2 separate regions of the Homo sapiens genome follow, and region 2 is linked to region 1. Evidence: promoter capture Hi-C in 16 types of primary human blood cells and fetal thymus (Javierre and others, 2016). All regions are on one chromosome and are shown on one strand. The core of a region is centred on a gene start or on the middle of the fragment in contact, and the rest is flanking DNA. Distances in the headings are between cores, read along the strand shown. Region 1 holds the start of SIGLEC9 (sialic acid binding Ig like lectin 9). Region 2 holds the start of KLK14 (kallikrein related peptidase 14).

Region 1 (7,101 bases), core at 4,123-6,622:
ACATGTGGAAGTCTTTCTGCTGGCGAAAGACACATTCGCCAGCAAACTCTGAGGAGTCTTTTGCTTTCCCTAGACCTCACTGAATTCTGCACAGCAGGGAAGAGGGGAAGGCTGATCTCAGAAAACCTCCCATCTCTGGCAGTGGTGGGTCTGACACTGCACTTATGTGCACGATTACCATTTTGTCCAAACCCCGTGGCTTCCTGTTGGGGTTTACCCTTGTTTCTCCCAGACTATTCTTCCCATACGGAGGGACTCTTGTGACCAGACTGTCCTGGGGCAGTGCCTGGTGCTCATGGCTCAAGGCACAGTTCTGCTGGGGCTGGTGCTGCTGCCATCCAGGTGGTGAGAAAGTAAGCAGACCCAGAGGGGTCCTGAGCGGGGAGCGGGGTCAGTGTCTGAGCCTCTCCTTCTCTCCCCAGGGGCTTTGGCTTAGGATCCAGGAGATGGCCTTAGAGTGCAGGAGCTGGTGACGGTGCAGGAGGGAATGTGCAGGCATGTGCTCTGCGCTGTTTTCTACCCCAAGTATTACTGGGCAGGATCCGGCCTAGCTCATGGTTACTGCCAACAGGATGAAGCCACTCCTGGAAGGAACACTCCAGTGGCTACAAACAACCCCAAACAATTGCAGGAGAAGAACCAGGGCCAGTTCACCTCGTTGGTCATCCCCAGACCTACAGCTGCTCCCTGAACCTCAGAGATGCCAATGAGGCGGATACAGGGACGTACTTCTTTCAGGTGGAGAGAGGTTATTACATGAAATACAGTTACGGAAATGAGAAGTTGTTCTTGCATGTGACAAGTAGAGGAAAGTCCCAGAAAAGGAGCTCTTTCTCCTCATTCGGGGTCATGGGAAGCATTCAGGGGCCCTGGGGTGGGGCTCTGGCACAGGGAGTGCCCCCACTCCCAGAAACAGGAATCAGCCCCTTTCTCTTTTCTAGTGCTGACCCAGCCACCTGAGATCCATGTCCAGAAGAGCTGCAATCAGGTGACCCTGGAAATCTGACTTGCACCGTATCATGGGCCGGTGAGAAGGGAACCCCACCAAATTTCTTCTGGATAAGAGAAGCCACCAATTTTACAGTCTCCAAGACCCCTCTTCCCGACCAGTCCTCAGTTCTCAGCCTTATCCCACAGCCATGTGACCATGGCAGCAACCTCACCTGTCAGGTGAAGTTCCTCCGAGCTGGTGTGACCATGGGGAGAACCATCCAGCTCAATGTCTCTTATGAGTGGTGGATCAGGACCCCCATGCCCAGGGCCCTGAGAACAATGGGTGTCAGGAGGGAAGGGAGGTCAGAATCAGGAATTCTTTTTTTTTTTTTTTTTTAAGACAGAGTCTCGCTATGTCACCCAGGCTTGAGTGCAGTGGCGCAATCTCTGCTCACTGCAGCCTCCGCCTTCCAGGCTCAAGCGATCCTCCTGCCTCAGCCTCCCAAGTAGCAGAGACTACAGGTGGCACCACCATGTCCAGCTAATTTTTAAATTTTGGGCAGAGATGGGTTCTCACTGTGTCACCCAGTTTGGTGTTGAACTCTTAGGCTCAAGTGATCCTCCTGCCTCGGCCTCCCAAAGTGTTGGGATTACAGGCGTGCACCACTGTGCCTGGCCAGAGTATGAGTTTTTTTGTTTTTTGTTTTGAGATGGAGTCTCGCTCTGTCACCCAGGCTGGAATGCAGTGACATGATCTCGGCTCACTGTAACCTATGCCTCCCGAGTTCAGGTGATTCTTATGCCTCGGCCTCTGGAGTAGCTGGGATTACAGGCACCTGCCACCATGCCCGGCTCACCCTTGCCTGGCTCAGCTTTGAGCTCTGTCTTGATGCCTCTCCTACTTTCTGCCCCTTGATCCTCCTCTTATGCATGGCGTCTCTCTTCCCCCATTTACCCCATTCAGGATGCAGCACTTCCTCCAAATGTCACCCTTTTCATCCACTGTACTCATGAGCCAGTGGGTGCTGTAACTTCCCTTCCTGAACAATGTCTCCCGTCATGCCCTCCTTGCTTAGTCCCCTGTCCTCCATCAGCATGACCAGGCCCTTTGCTGTCTTTTTTTTTTTTTTTTTTTTGAAGATGAAGTTTCGCTCTTGTCGTCCAGGCTGGAGTGCGGTGGCAGGATCTCGGCTCACTGCAACCTCCGCCTCCTTGGTTCAAGTGATTCTCCTGCCTCAGCCTTCTGAGTAGCTGGGATTACAGGAGCATGCCACCATGCCTGGCTAATTTTTGTACTTTTAGTAGAAACAACTTTTCACCATGTTGGTCAGGGTGGTCTCGAACTCCTTGACCTCAGGTGATCCAACCGCCTTGGCCTCCCAAAGTGCTGGGGTTACAGATCTGAGCCGCCGCACCCAGCCTCTTTGCTGTCTTGATCATTGTTCCATGCCCCTCCCCAGCCTCCCATCTTCCCTTCATGCTGTGCCCCTGATAGCACAAGCCCAGAAAGACCTTCCTGTACCCAGTACCAGCCCCACCCCTTCCTGGCCCAGAGTCCCCTGTGACTCCTCGGCACCCTCAGTCTAAGCTCCTCAGCTGGTCATGCCCCAACACCTCCATGTCCCCTTGGAAGACCCCAGATATATGTGCAGGTCTCTTCATCTGCCAGACTGTTTCAGAGCCTTTGCACATCCCTCGTCCTTCACTTGTGATGCCTGTCTGTCTTGCGTCAATATGACCCACTCCCCCTTCCAATCTCAGTTCAGCCTCCTTCCCTCCAGGGTCTGTCAGCTAGCGTGGACTCCGGGATTTGTGTACATAAGAGCATGAGCCGGGCCAGGCTTGGTGGCTCACGCTTGTAATGCCAGCACTTTGGGAGGCTGAGGTGGGCAGATCACGAGGTCAGGAGTTCAAGACCAGCCTGACCAACATGGTGAAATCCCGTCTCTACTAAAAATACAAAAATTAACCTGGCGTGGCGGCACATGCCTGTAATCCCAGCTACTCAGGAGGCTGAGGCAGGAGAATCGCTTGAACGTGGGAGGCGGAGCTTGCAGTGAGCTGAGATCACGGCACTGTACTCTAGCCTGGGTGACAGAGCAAGACTCCATCTCAAAAAAAAAAAAAAAAAGCATGAGTCAAACAGTCATGTGTCTTCTGTCTCATTCCGAATGGGAGGTAAGGGAGAAACCGACCTCTCAGCACCACTCTTCCTGCTTTCTCTGTTTTTTTCGTCCAGCCCCAAAGACCCTGAACAATGGTACACCACTGCCTGTCCTGGAGGGAGAGTCCCTGTGGTCTGTGTGGCTGACAGCACCCCACCTCCCAACCCCGCCCGGCTGAGCTGGTCCTGAGAGGGAAGAACACTGAATTCCTCCCAGCTCTCAGCACCCGGGGGCCTGGAGCTGCCTCAGATAGGGGCTGGGACGGAGGAGCATTGACCTGTTGGGCTCACCACCCACTGCGATTTCAGCACATTTCCCTGAGCCTCTGTGCAGAGTGAGTTGCAGGACAGCTGCTGAGGCAGGCAGCCTAGTCGGGTGTTTGGGCTGTCAGAGGGGTGGAGGCCTGGGAACAGAATCTCACACGCTTCTACCCTTTCCCAGGAAGCCCCTCTGGCTACAGATGTGTGAGTGAAAAGCAGGAGGGCTTCTGGCCCCTGGTTCTCACCTGATCAGGGGGCCATCCTGGGCACTGGCTTCCCCCCAACCCCCATGGCCTCACCTGGAGCTACTACTCCAGGTGAGCAGGCCTGCTCTTTTCTAGGGAAGCCGAAGGATTGTTCCCCGAGTTCCAGGTGGGGCTGAGCTGTCCTGTCCCGCCTGAGTTAGAATTGAAGTGGCCGATGCTAATCTGAGGCCCGTGTTGGCTCTGCAGGTGTGGAGGGCCCCAGGGGAGCAGTGCTGAGAGGCCTGACTGAGCCCCTCCTGCTCAAGACAGAACTCAGATGTGGACACCCAGCCCTGCAGAACAGATGCAGGACAACACTGTCAGCCATGGCTCAGCCCTTCTGACCATTGCAGTTGAGATGCTGCAACTTCCCAGGGAGCGACTGGGCAAACATGGGGGCCTGAGGTATTCACGGCAACGTGCACAGATGATAAAACTACCTAGAAAAGCATGGAGACCATTAGCGTTAAAGTGAGGCTGGGGCTGCTTCAGGAGGAAGTGGGGTGTGGCTGACAGGAAGTGGGGTAACAAAGAGGAGGTGTTGCGGCATCCCCAGTGTTCTGTTTCTCTAAGCATGTTCATATGTGTAAACCGCTGAGATTTTTTCTTGGGGGGAAGACATTTTTATCTATATGGCTTATATTTCTCCCAAAAATATTTCTAGAAAACTGACATCGGTCTAAGGAGGCTCCACCACACAGGATACTCCCAGTTCCTCCCAGCCCAGCCACACAGTTACAAAAAATCTTCTGCTGAATTCAGGTGCATGTTTCTTCTCCCATGAAATCCTGCCCATCGCGGAGGGTGCATGCCCCGGGGCTGGTGTCCTCACTCCACATCTCCTGTTCACCGGGACCCCTGGGAGCAGAGCTTGCAGAAGCAAAGCCCCAGGGCCAGCTGATCCCTCATGTTCTGGAGTAACCAGGGAAGTGTGGCTGAGCGAGACATCGGTGGTGAAGAAACCCTTCGTGGTGCAGTGAGGAAAGGAGAAATATCTTCCCTTTTGAAATCTGCCCCTTTTCTTCCGAATTTCCTCCCTTCCAAGCCCCACAGTACAACAGTCACAGCCTCAGTTTCCCAGACCTCCTGCGAGCCAGGCTCCCCTCTGTGTCCTTGGCGTGTATCAACACATAGAATCCTCACCTCCACAGCCCCATGTCCCTCTGCTCAGTCCTCCTGAGATTGAACCCCTGACCTACGGGAGAGTGACCCCATCCTGCCTGTGCCCCCCAACTGAAGCTCCTGCCGTGGACAGCTCAGACGTCAGGAGCCTCCATGTCTCCCCTCCGCACAGTGACCCCTTGGGGACAGTGTCCAGCTCTGCTGTGTTGACCTCGTTGTGCAGAAAGGGGGTGCCCACCTCGTGCTTGCTTGGGGGGGATGAGAGGCTGCCTGCTCACCCCACCTGCACCCCCATCTCTCATGGCCCCAAGTCCCACCTCTGAGCTACGCAGATATCCACAGCCTCTGACTCAGGGGTCTGGCCAGATGGGACTCATTTTCACCCTGCAGAAAATGTCACCTAAGGGGAAGGGCATTGAGAGGGAGGCAGGAGGTGGGGTGGGCCCTGCATGGGGTGGGAATCTGGGTGAGTCTGTCTCCCGCTCTGGCCTCAGGGACCCAGGAGTGAACATGGGGTGGTGGACGGTGGATCTCCCAGGGCTGACCCGGGCCTGACAGTGTCTGGGTGTAAAGTTCCTCCTCTGAGGAGGTCACTGTTCCGACCTCGCCCCTGTCTTCCTGTAGGGCCTCCTCTAAGTCTTGAGCCCGCAGTTCCTGAGAGAAGAACCCTGAGGAACAGACGTTCCCTCGCGGCCCTGGCACCTCTAACCCCAGACATGCTGCTGCTGCTGCTGCCCCTGCTCTGGGGGAGGGAGAGGGCGGAAGGACAGACAAGTAAACTGCTGACGATGCAGAGTTCCGTGACGGTGCAGGAAGGCCTGTGTGTCCATGTGCCCTGCTCCTTCTCCTACCCCTCGCATGGCTGGATTTACCCTGGCCCAGTAGTTCATGGCTACTGGTTCCGGGAAGGGGCCAATACAGACCAGGATGCTCCAGTGGCCACAAACAACCCAGCTCGGGCAGTGTGGGAGGAGACTCGGGACCGATTCCACCTCCTTGGGGACCCACATACCAAGAATTGCACCCTGAGCATCAGAGATGCCAGAAGAAGTGATGCGGGGAGATACTTCTTTCGTATGGAGAAAGGAAGTATAAAATGGAATTATAAACATCACCGGCTCTCTGTGAATGTGACAGGTAAGGCACAGGCTCCAGGAAAGGCCACAGGGAAAGGTCATGGGGGCGGCAGGGAAAGGCTGGGATGGAGCCCCTGCCCCAGGAGAGGGCTTAGGGTGAAGCGAGTTGGCTCAGGGCAGGAGCTGGACCAGAGCCTGAGCTCCCCCCAGGGCTGCACCATGGATCCTCTGACCTGATCCTGAGTCCCCCTCTCTTCACCAGCCTTGACCCACAGGCCCAACATCCTCATCCCAGGCACCCTGGAGTCCGGCTGCCCCCAGAATCTGACCTGCTCTGTGCCCTGGGCCTGTGAGCAGGGGACACCCCCTATGATCTCCTGGATAGGGACCTCCGTGTCCCCCCTGGACCCCTCCACCACCCGCTCCTCGGTGCTCACCCTCATCCCACAGCCCCAGGACCATGGCACCAGCCTCACCTGTCAGGTGACCTTCCCTGGGGCCAGCGTGACCACGAACAAGACCGTCCATCTCAACGTGTCCTGTGAGTGCTGGGCCGGGACGCCTGGGTCCCTGATGGGGTGAGCGTCAAGCCTGGACACTGGGTGCTGGGTCCCGGAATCTGGGCTGGTGGTGGGGTCAGGAGGACACTGGCTCTGCCTTCCCTGTTTATGCGGCTCCTGGGGACAGACAGGGCCAGTGTCCCCAGCCCTCACAGTGATGCGGGTCTCCATGTCTTTCTGTCCCAGACCCGCCTCAGAACTTGACCATGACTGTCTTCCAAGGAGACGGCACAGGTAGGATGGAGCTCCCTCCCTGGGGCTGGAGGAGCAGGGCCTTCAGGTCAGGATGGGGCTGGCTTATTCCTCAACCTGGACTCACTTTGGCAAACAGGGATGTCCTTGTGGGTGAACTCAGGGCCCCTCTGTATCCTTAGGCCCCAAGGCCACTTGTTCCCATCCTCCCATCACCTCCCTTGGACTCCCCCACACACCCCCCCCTCAGCCTCAAACAAGAAGAGGGTGGCATTCACACAGCAGGACCAGGCTTTGAGGCTCCTTCTCATGTATCTCCTGAATACATCTCCACCCTTATCTGTTTATTTCTGATAGTTCTGATCTAAGTACTTCTGGACAGGTGATAAATGTCCATGGGCAAAAATTCAAATTGCAGAGCAAAGGCTCTCCTCCGATGCCTGCCCCCCTCCCCAGAACCAACCACTGTCCATCCAGGCTGCCCTGAGTCTCGGTTTGTACACCTGGAGGATCTCAGAGGTGGTTTGACGTCCGTAGTGAGACTGTCC
Region 2 (6,546 bases), core at 3,487-5,986, 42 kb before region 1:
AGAGTCACCCTGAGGGGGAGGAACAGAAATGGAGACACTGATGGACAGGTAGCCAGAGCCACCATGGCACAGAGAACCCGAGAAGCAGACACAGGGAGACAGGCAGAGACACTGGTGGACAGTTAGGGACACAGTCCTGCCCCAGCTCTGAGGTCTCAGCCCCGGAGGTCGGGGCACTTCCTTCCCTCTCCGCTGGGTCTGGCTCTGTCTCTGTGTGCACCTGCCTGTCCCTTGAATCTCACCAGGCCCCTCTCTGTTCGCTCCAACTGTAGAACATTTGTGTGTCTCTCTTTTTCTATTTCCCCATCTCTGCCTCCCTCAAGGATGCATTAAGATTTCTAGAAGCCTCAGCACAGCCTTTCCCAGACCCATATGAGCAGAGGCCACTCTGCGATCTTTCCCCAACCTGCCTCATCCCATTCCACCAACTACCCTAAGAGGGTTACTCCCACCTGACAGATGAGGAAACTGAGGCATGAATGCTCTGAGTCCATTACCCAGGGGGCACAGGGCTAGGAAGCAGGGTGGCCTGGCTATCGGAATCTCTCTGTGCCTGCGGTTCACTCTCTTCTGAAGACCTCTGCAGACTTCCATGCTCCTGACATCATTTGCTTAAATCCCAGTCCCAAATAATCCCTACCACAGCTCCCATCCTGGGCCTTACCTGACAAGAGTCCTTCCCGCCCTGGGGAACTCCTGCACAGACCATGCCAGGCGTGATGGTTCTAGGATAGGCCTTCTGGCACACCTCATCCGGGGAGATGTTGATGTTCACGCATTGCAGAGAGGCGGGGTACCTGGCTGGGGGACACTGCAGGGTTATAACTGGGTCTACCCTCCCATAAGACCCAAGGGTCCAGGCCCCCAGCCCCTCCTCCTTCCGACCCAGGAGTCCAGCCCCAGCACCTCCTCCCTCAGACCCAGGAGTCCAGGCCCCCAGCCCCTCCTCCCTCAGACCCAGGAGTCCAGACCCCCAGTCCCTCCTCCCTCAGACCCGGGAGTCCAGGTCCCCAGCCCCTCCTCCCTCAGACCCAGAAGTCCAGGCCCAGCCCCTCCTCCTTGAGACCCAGGAGTCCAGGCTCCAGCCCCTCCTCCCTCAGACGTATGAGTCCAGGCCCAGCTCCTCCTCCTTGAGACCCAGGAGTCCAGGCCTCAGCCCCCTCCTCCCTCAGACCCAGGAGTCCAGGCCCAGCCCCTCCTCCCTCAGACCCAGGAGCCCCAGTCCCCCCAGCTCCACCTCCTGGAGACCCAGGAGCCCAGGCCCAGTCCCCTGCTTTCCAAGACGCAGGAGTCCTCACCGATGGGGCTGGATATAGTTCCCCAGCCTGACACTCGGCAGGAGGTCCCGGGGCTGGCACAGGCCTGGGTGACCTCAATGGGCCTGACTGCCCTCCCGATCCGTGCGGGCTGCTGTAGCTGCAGCAGCATGAGGTCGTTGTCGTGGGTCCGGGAGTTGTAGTTGGGGTGCGTCACCTGACGAACCACGCGCAGCACCTGCTGGGTGGCCTCCCACCTCCTCAGGTTGTGCTTGCCCAGGGCAACCTGAAGGATCCTGGCCACGACCCCCAAGAGAAGCGCTGCTCAGGGTCTGAGCCAGAGACTCCTCCCCACCCTCCAGCCCGGTTCCCTGGCCGGGTGACGAGTCTTCCCCGAGGTCTAGCCTGCTTCTCACTAACTGCAGGCCGAGCATTCTTGGCCTCCTGTGCCCTTCCCCATGGCCAGGGCATTCTCTCGGCCCAGCCCCAGCTGCCTCTCCTTCCGCTCTTGGGCTGGGCTCCAGCTCCTGGCTTGGGAAGAAGGTGATGATTGGGAGAGCTTGGCTCCGTGCCAGGGTCTGTGCTGGGCTCGGTGCATTGAGTCCTAAGCGAAACTGCGTTATGAGTCTAGGCTCTAAATCGGAACTGATATTCCGGAGTAGGCACCATTCTGTTTCTAGCCTGGGTTCTGAGTTCTAGACATCTTAAACTTTTGACTCTATGCTAAGATCAGGATTCTAGATCGAACCTGGATTATGACTTGATTTATTTATTTATTTTTTTTTTGTGATGGAGTCTCGCTCTGTCACCTAGGCTGGAGTGCAGTGGCACGATCTCAGCTCACTCTCGACCTCCAACTCCCAGTTCAAGTGATTCTCCCGCCTCAGCCTCCCAAAGTGCTGGGATTACAGGCGTGAGCCACCGCACCCAGCCTCTACAGGTCTGTTTCATATTGGATTATAGGGCTCTTGGTTCTGGACTCTGGCCCTAGCCCTTGACCTCAGGTTGGGCTCTGGGTTCTAGTTGGAGCTCTAGGTTATGGCCCGGATCCAAGATTCTAGAGTCTGGTTTGCATTCTGGCCTTTATATTCTAGACTCTGGCCTGAGCTTTGATCTCTAGGTTCTAGACTGACCTGTTTATGGCATAGATATGGCTTATAGGCATTTTGACCTCTTGGCTGGGGTCTGGGTTGTAAGTTCAGATCTAGAATTTAGGAGGGGTCTAGGTTTTATATGGGGCTTCTGATTAGGATCTGCATTCTGGGATTTATTGATTGATTGATTGATATGGAGTTTCGCTCTTGTTGCCTAGCCTGGAGTGCAATGGTGCGATCTTGACTCACTGCAACCTCCGCCTCCCAGGTTCAAGTGATTCTCCTGCCTCAGCCTCCCGAGTGGCTGGGATTACAGGCATGTGCCACCATGCCTGGCTAATTTTGCATTTTTAGTAGAGACAGGGTTTCTCTATGTTGCTCAGGCTGGTCTCGAACTCCTGACCTCAGGTGATCTGCCTGCCTCAGCATCCCAAAGTGCTAGGATTATAGGCATGAGCCACCGCACCCGCCACATTCTGGGATTCAAACACTGGGTTGAAGTCTGCTCATAGCGGAGCTATAGACTAGACTCTGAACTAAACCTTGGGTGTGAAACAGCCTCCAGGTTTTGCCTCTATTCTTAGAGTTGTATGTTCCAGCTGTGAGCAGCGTTCTAGTTCTGGATTTATGGCTAGACTGCAGGTCCTGAACTGGGCTCTGAGTTCTACGTAGTGTCCTGAGTTTCTGAATGTAGACGGGGTCCTGAATTCAGCCACCAATCTGGAATGGGCTAAGCTTGGTCTCGATGTAATGTGTGGCCTCTGGAAGAATCACTGGATCAGATGTTCGGTTCTCAGCAGGTCCATGGGTTCCAAGCTGCCCATCTGCTTTCAGAACCTATGCTGAGTTCGAGATTTATGGAGGAGCCCACATCCCGAGCTGTGTTTTTGTTCCAGGCTCTTCTCTAGACCTCAAACCAGGAGCCAGCCACTACATTGGGTTCTATACAGAGATCCAGGTTCTCAGCTCAGCTCTAGGGCTTTAGACTCTGGAATTCACTAGGTACAGGGACAGGGGAGGGGGTCACTTACGGGCGGCCGCAGTGAGCAGCAGTGATGACCCACTGGCCTGAAAGCAGGGCGCCTCCGCAGAGGAAGCGGCGCCTGGGACCCGCCAGCAGGGCCGCCTGCCACGGCTGGGAGCTCCGGGTGCACGTATGGCCACCAATTATCTTGTTCTCATCCTCTTGGCTCTGTGTCATGGCTAGGAGTGGACAGGATTGGGTGGGGAAAGTAGATGAGCAAACACTCTCCACTCCACAAGTTTGTAGGATTCCAAAACTGACAAATCCCCTTCCTTTTGGTCTAACCCCTAAACTGCCCGCCTCTATCTGTCCCACCCAGGGTGAGACATGCCCAATATTGACCCCGTTATTGCCCCAGCACGGAGAGCTTTCTGACTCACCTCCCAAGTCACCTCCGTAGCATCTCTTATTTTGTGCCGTGGCCACCTTATCCAGGGCCTTGCTACATCTACGACCCTTAGCTCTATGCTCCCATAATTTCTGTGATCACTTCTCGAAATATGCCACATTTCCCCCCAATGAGTCCTTCCCCAACACATTCAAGGACCTCCCTGTCTCCTCCCCAACGTTCCCACTCAGTGGGACCCCAAGGATCCGCCATCTCTTGCCCCACACTTGCCCCCATCCACCTCACACACCCATGCCACGATCCCGCCACCCCATGCCACGATCCCGCCATCCCATCATCCTTCTCCACCTTCCCTCTGACAACAAAACATCTTTCTGACATTGTTTCTTTCCTAACACAGTCAGGTAGAGCCCCGTGATCTTTCTGCTATGACCCACTCAGGACCTAATAGTTCCCTAAGATTCCTTATGTATTTTGCACCAGACCTTATAAACACCTCTCTCCCCGGCCCCACAATTCCCTAGCACCTCCACAACTAGGAATTTAGGCCTCCAGCACGTTCCCCCACCATGACCCCCAAACCACTCCCTGCTCTTTCTTATGAGGTCACCATGAGCATCCAGGGGCCCCAAGGACCCATCCCCATCTCTTCTCAGAGTCTCCAGGGGACCCCCTTGTGTCATACCCAACCGTTCTCTTACCTATAGCCAGGACTTGAAGTGCTGTCAGCAGGAGGAACATTTTAGGGGCTGAGGGCCAGGTCCTGTCAAATGCAGAGAAAAAGTGAGAGAGAAGGAACCTTCAACAGAACCGGGGGCTGAGAGGCAGAGACAGCAAGGGGCACTTACCCAGAGCCCAAGACCCTCAGGGACATGAAGACACAGCAGAGAGGTAGGGACCAGAGACGAGGGGGGCGGGGCCTGCAGGCTCTGCGGGCGGCAGGTGGGAGGATGTGGAGCAGGGCACAGGTCCCTCCTTGATGTCTTGATGAAGGAAGGAGGGGAGGTGTCTCTCTTCCTAGTCACACTGGCAAAGCCTTTTATCCCTGGTAAGGACAGCTGGCCCTGCCCCCACCTCCCGCCGCCCTGCTTCTGACATTTTTTTTTTTTTATTGCCTAGTTCCCATTCCAGGACTCCCTGATCCCATCCCCTCCCTCCCCTGTCTGGCCAAAAAAGCAGCCACAATTGTTCATGAGAACCCGCCCAGGGAAGATGCTATAATCTAGAAGGAATCCTGGGAGGGGACCCCAGGGCAGGGTGGGCAGGGGAGGGTTCCCAGTTGCTGGAGGTGGTGGATCTAGTGGTGGAGTCAGGAAACCAGGGTGGGGAGTGTCAGAGGAAAGGGCACGAAGGGGCTGAGAGAGGGAGGAAGAGATGGACTGAGAGAGGGAGTCACGGGAGGAGGGAGAGAGGGAGAGAGAGAGAGAGAGAGAGAGAGACAGAGAGAGATGGAGAGAGAGAAAGACAGAGAGACACACAGACAGAGAGAGACAGAGACAGGGTGACGGGGGGGAGAGAGAGAGAGAGATGGAGAGAGAGACAGAGAGAGAGCCAGACAGAGAGACACAGAGAGAGAGAGAGAAAGAGAGAGACAGAGACAGAGTGACAGAGAGGGGGAGAGCAAGAGACAGAGAGAGACTGGGAAAATGAATGAGAAGATATGACAGTGGAGAGAGAGGAGTCCAGGAATACGAGCACAGAGGCAGGTGTGCTCATGAGAGAAGGAACTGAGGAGAGAGCTGGAGAAACCGGTGGAAGTTGGATGTGACAGGGAACAGAAGAGGCAGACGGTGGGAAAAAAACAAGACAGAGGAAGAGGGAGACACAGAGACGCAGGGAGAGAGGGGTGTGGAGAAGTGGAGATAGAAAAGCAAAAGACGGAGGGAAGAAGGTGGAGATAGAATGGAAACAGACACACAGAAAGAGAAAACAGTGGAGAGAGAGGAGAGAGGCCGAGACGCCCCCACCATGCGGCACTCACCACAAACACACACAGAACAACAGCGATGATGATGAAGGCAGTGCGGGCATGAGACGTGGAAGAGAACGGGACATGGTGGGAGAAAGAGGATGGGACAGGCAGGCCGATGGCAGAGGGGAGACGGGAAGGATGGGCACCTACAGGGGATGGGGACAATGACAGAGGAGACGGAGGCCTAGATGAGAGATGGCAGCGCCAGGGAGAGATGGAGAGGAGGGGTGGGATAGAGGACGGGCAGGAGGTGGGCGGGAGATACCTGGACCTGGAGCAGAGCTGCCCACCTTGCTTTCTCACTTTCGACTCCTGAGAGATGGGGGAGCAGAGGCCCCAGCAGGGAGCAGGAAGGTTGGTGCCAGAACTGGCATTCCCCAGCTTGGGATCTGCTAGGTGCAGAGACAAAGTGAGAGCTGGAGATGCAAAGAGAGAGTGACAGAGACCCAGAGAGGGGGACAGAGACCCAGAGGGAGAGGGAGAGAGACCCAGAAAGAGAAGGGGACAGAGATTCAGAGACAGAAGGACAGTCTTAACAGACGGGGTTGGAAATTCAAAATAGGAGACGGCAGAGAGCAGGAGAGACAGAGTGAATGAGATGGGGAAGGATTCTGGCCAGCCTGCAGGGGGGTTCTGGAGTTGGGGGGGTTCCATCCTCATTTGGGGGAGGGCCTACCCTCCTCAGCCCCTCCCCTAGCCCCTTAAATTCCCCAGTGCTTGTGTCCGTCTCTGGGCCTGGGCAGCCCCGTACCTGGACCACGTGGTGACTCAGGAGGCTGCTTGCCTCCCTTGGCTACCCCAACTGTTCCCCGGCCTCAGCCTGACTCAGCCTCCCTCCACCTCGGCACCCC

What was found. The method cuts DNA at HindIII sites, captures the fragments that hold promoters and counts their contacts. A CHiCAGO score of 5 or more calls a contact.
Region 2: a contact is called between the fragment with the promoter of KLK14 here and the fragment with the promoter of SIGLEC9 in region 1, in 11 of 17 cell types (naive CD8 T cells, fetal thymus, non-activated CD4 T cells and 8 more). The highest score is 16.7, in naive CD8 T cells.

What each region holds. Positions count from the first base shown.
Region 1 is chr19:51,119,534-51,126,634 of GRCh38, forward strand. SIGLEC9 (sialic acid binding Ig like lectin 9) reads left to right here and starts at 5,373. Exons shown (of 7, transcript NM_014441.3): 1 at 5,373-5,862; 2 at 6,064-6,342; 3 at 6,548-6,595. The coding sequence starts at 5,442. It also overlaps the pseudogene SIGLEC18P. The HindIII fragment of the contact is 17,590 bases long and covers 1-7,101 here.
Region 2 is chr19:51,078,151-51,084,696 of GRCh38, forward strand. It overlaps KLK14 (kallikrein related peptidase 14), which reads right to left and starts at 4,737. Exons shown (of 6, transcript NM_001369775.2): 1 at 4,572-4,737; 2 at 4,425-4,486; 3 at 3,382-3,553; 4 at 1,299-1,552; 5 at 665-801; 6 at 1-9. The coding sequence starts at 4,464. The HindIII fragment of the contact is 24,105 bases long and covers 3,084-6,546 here.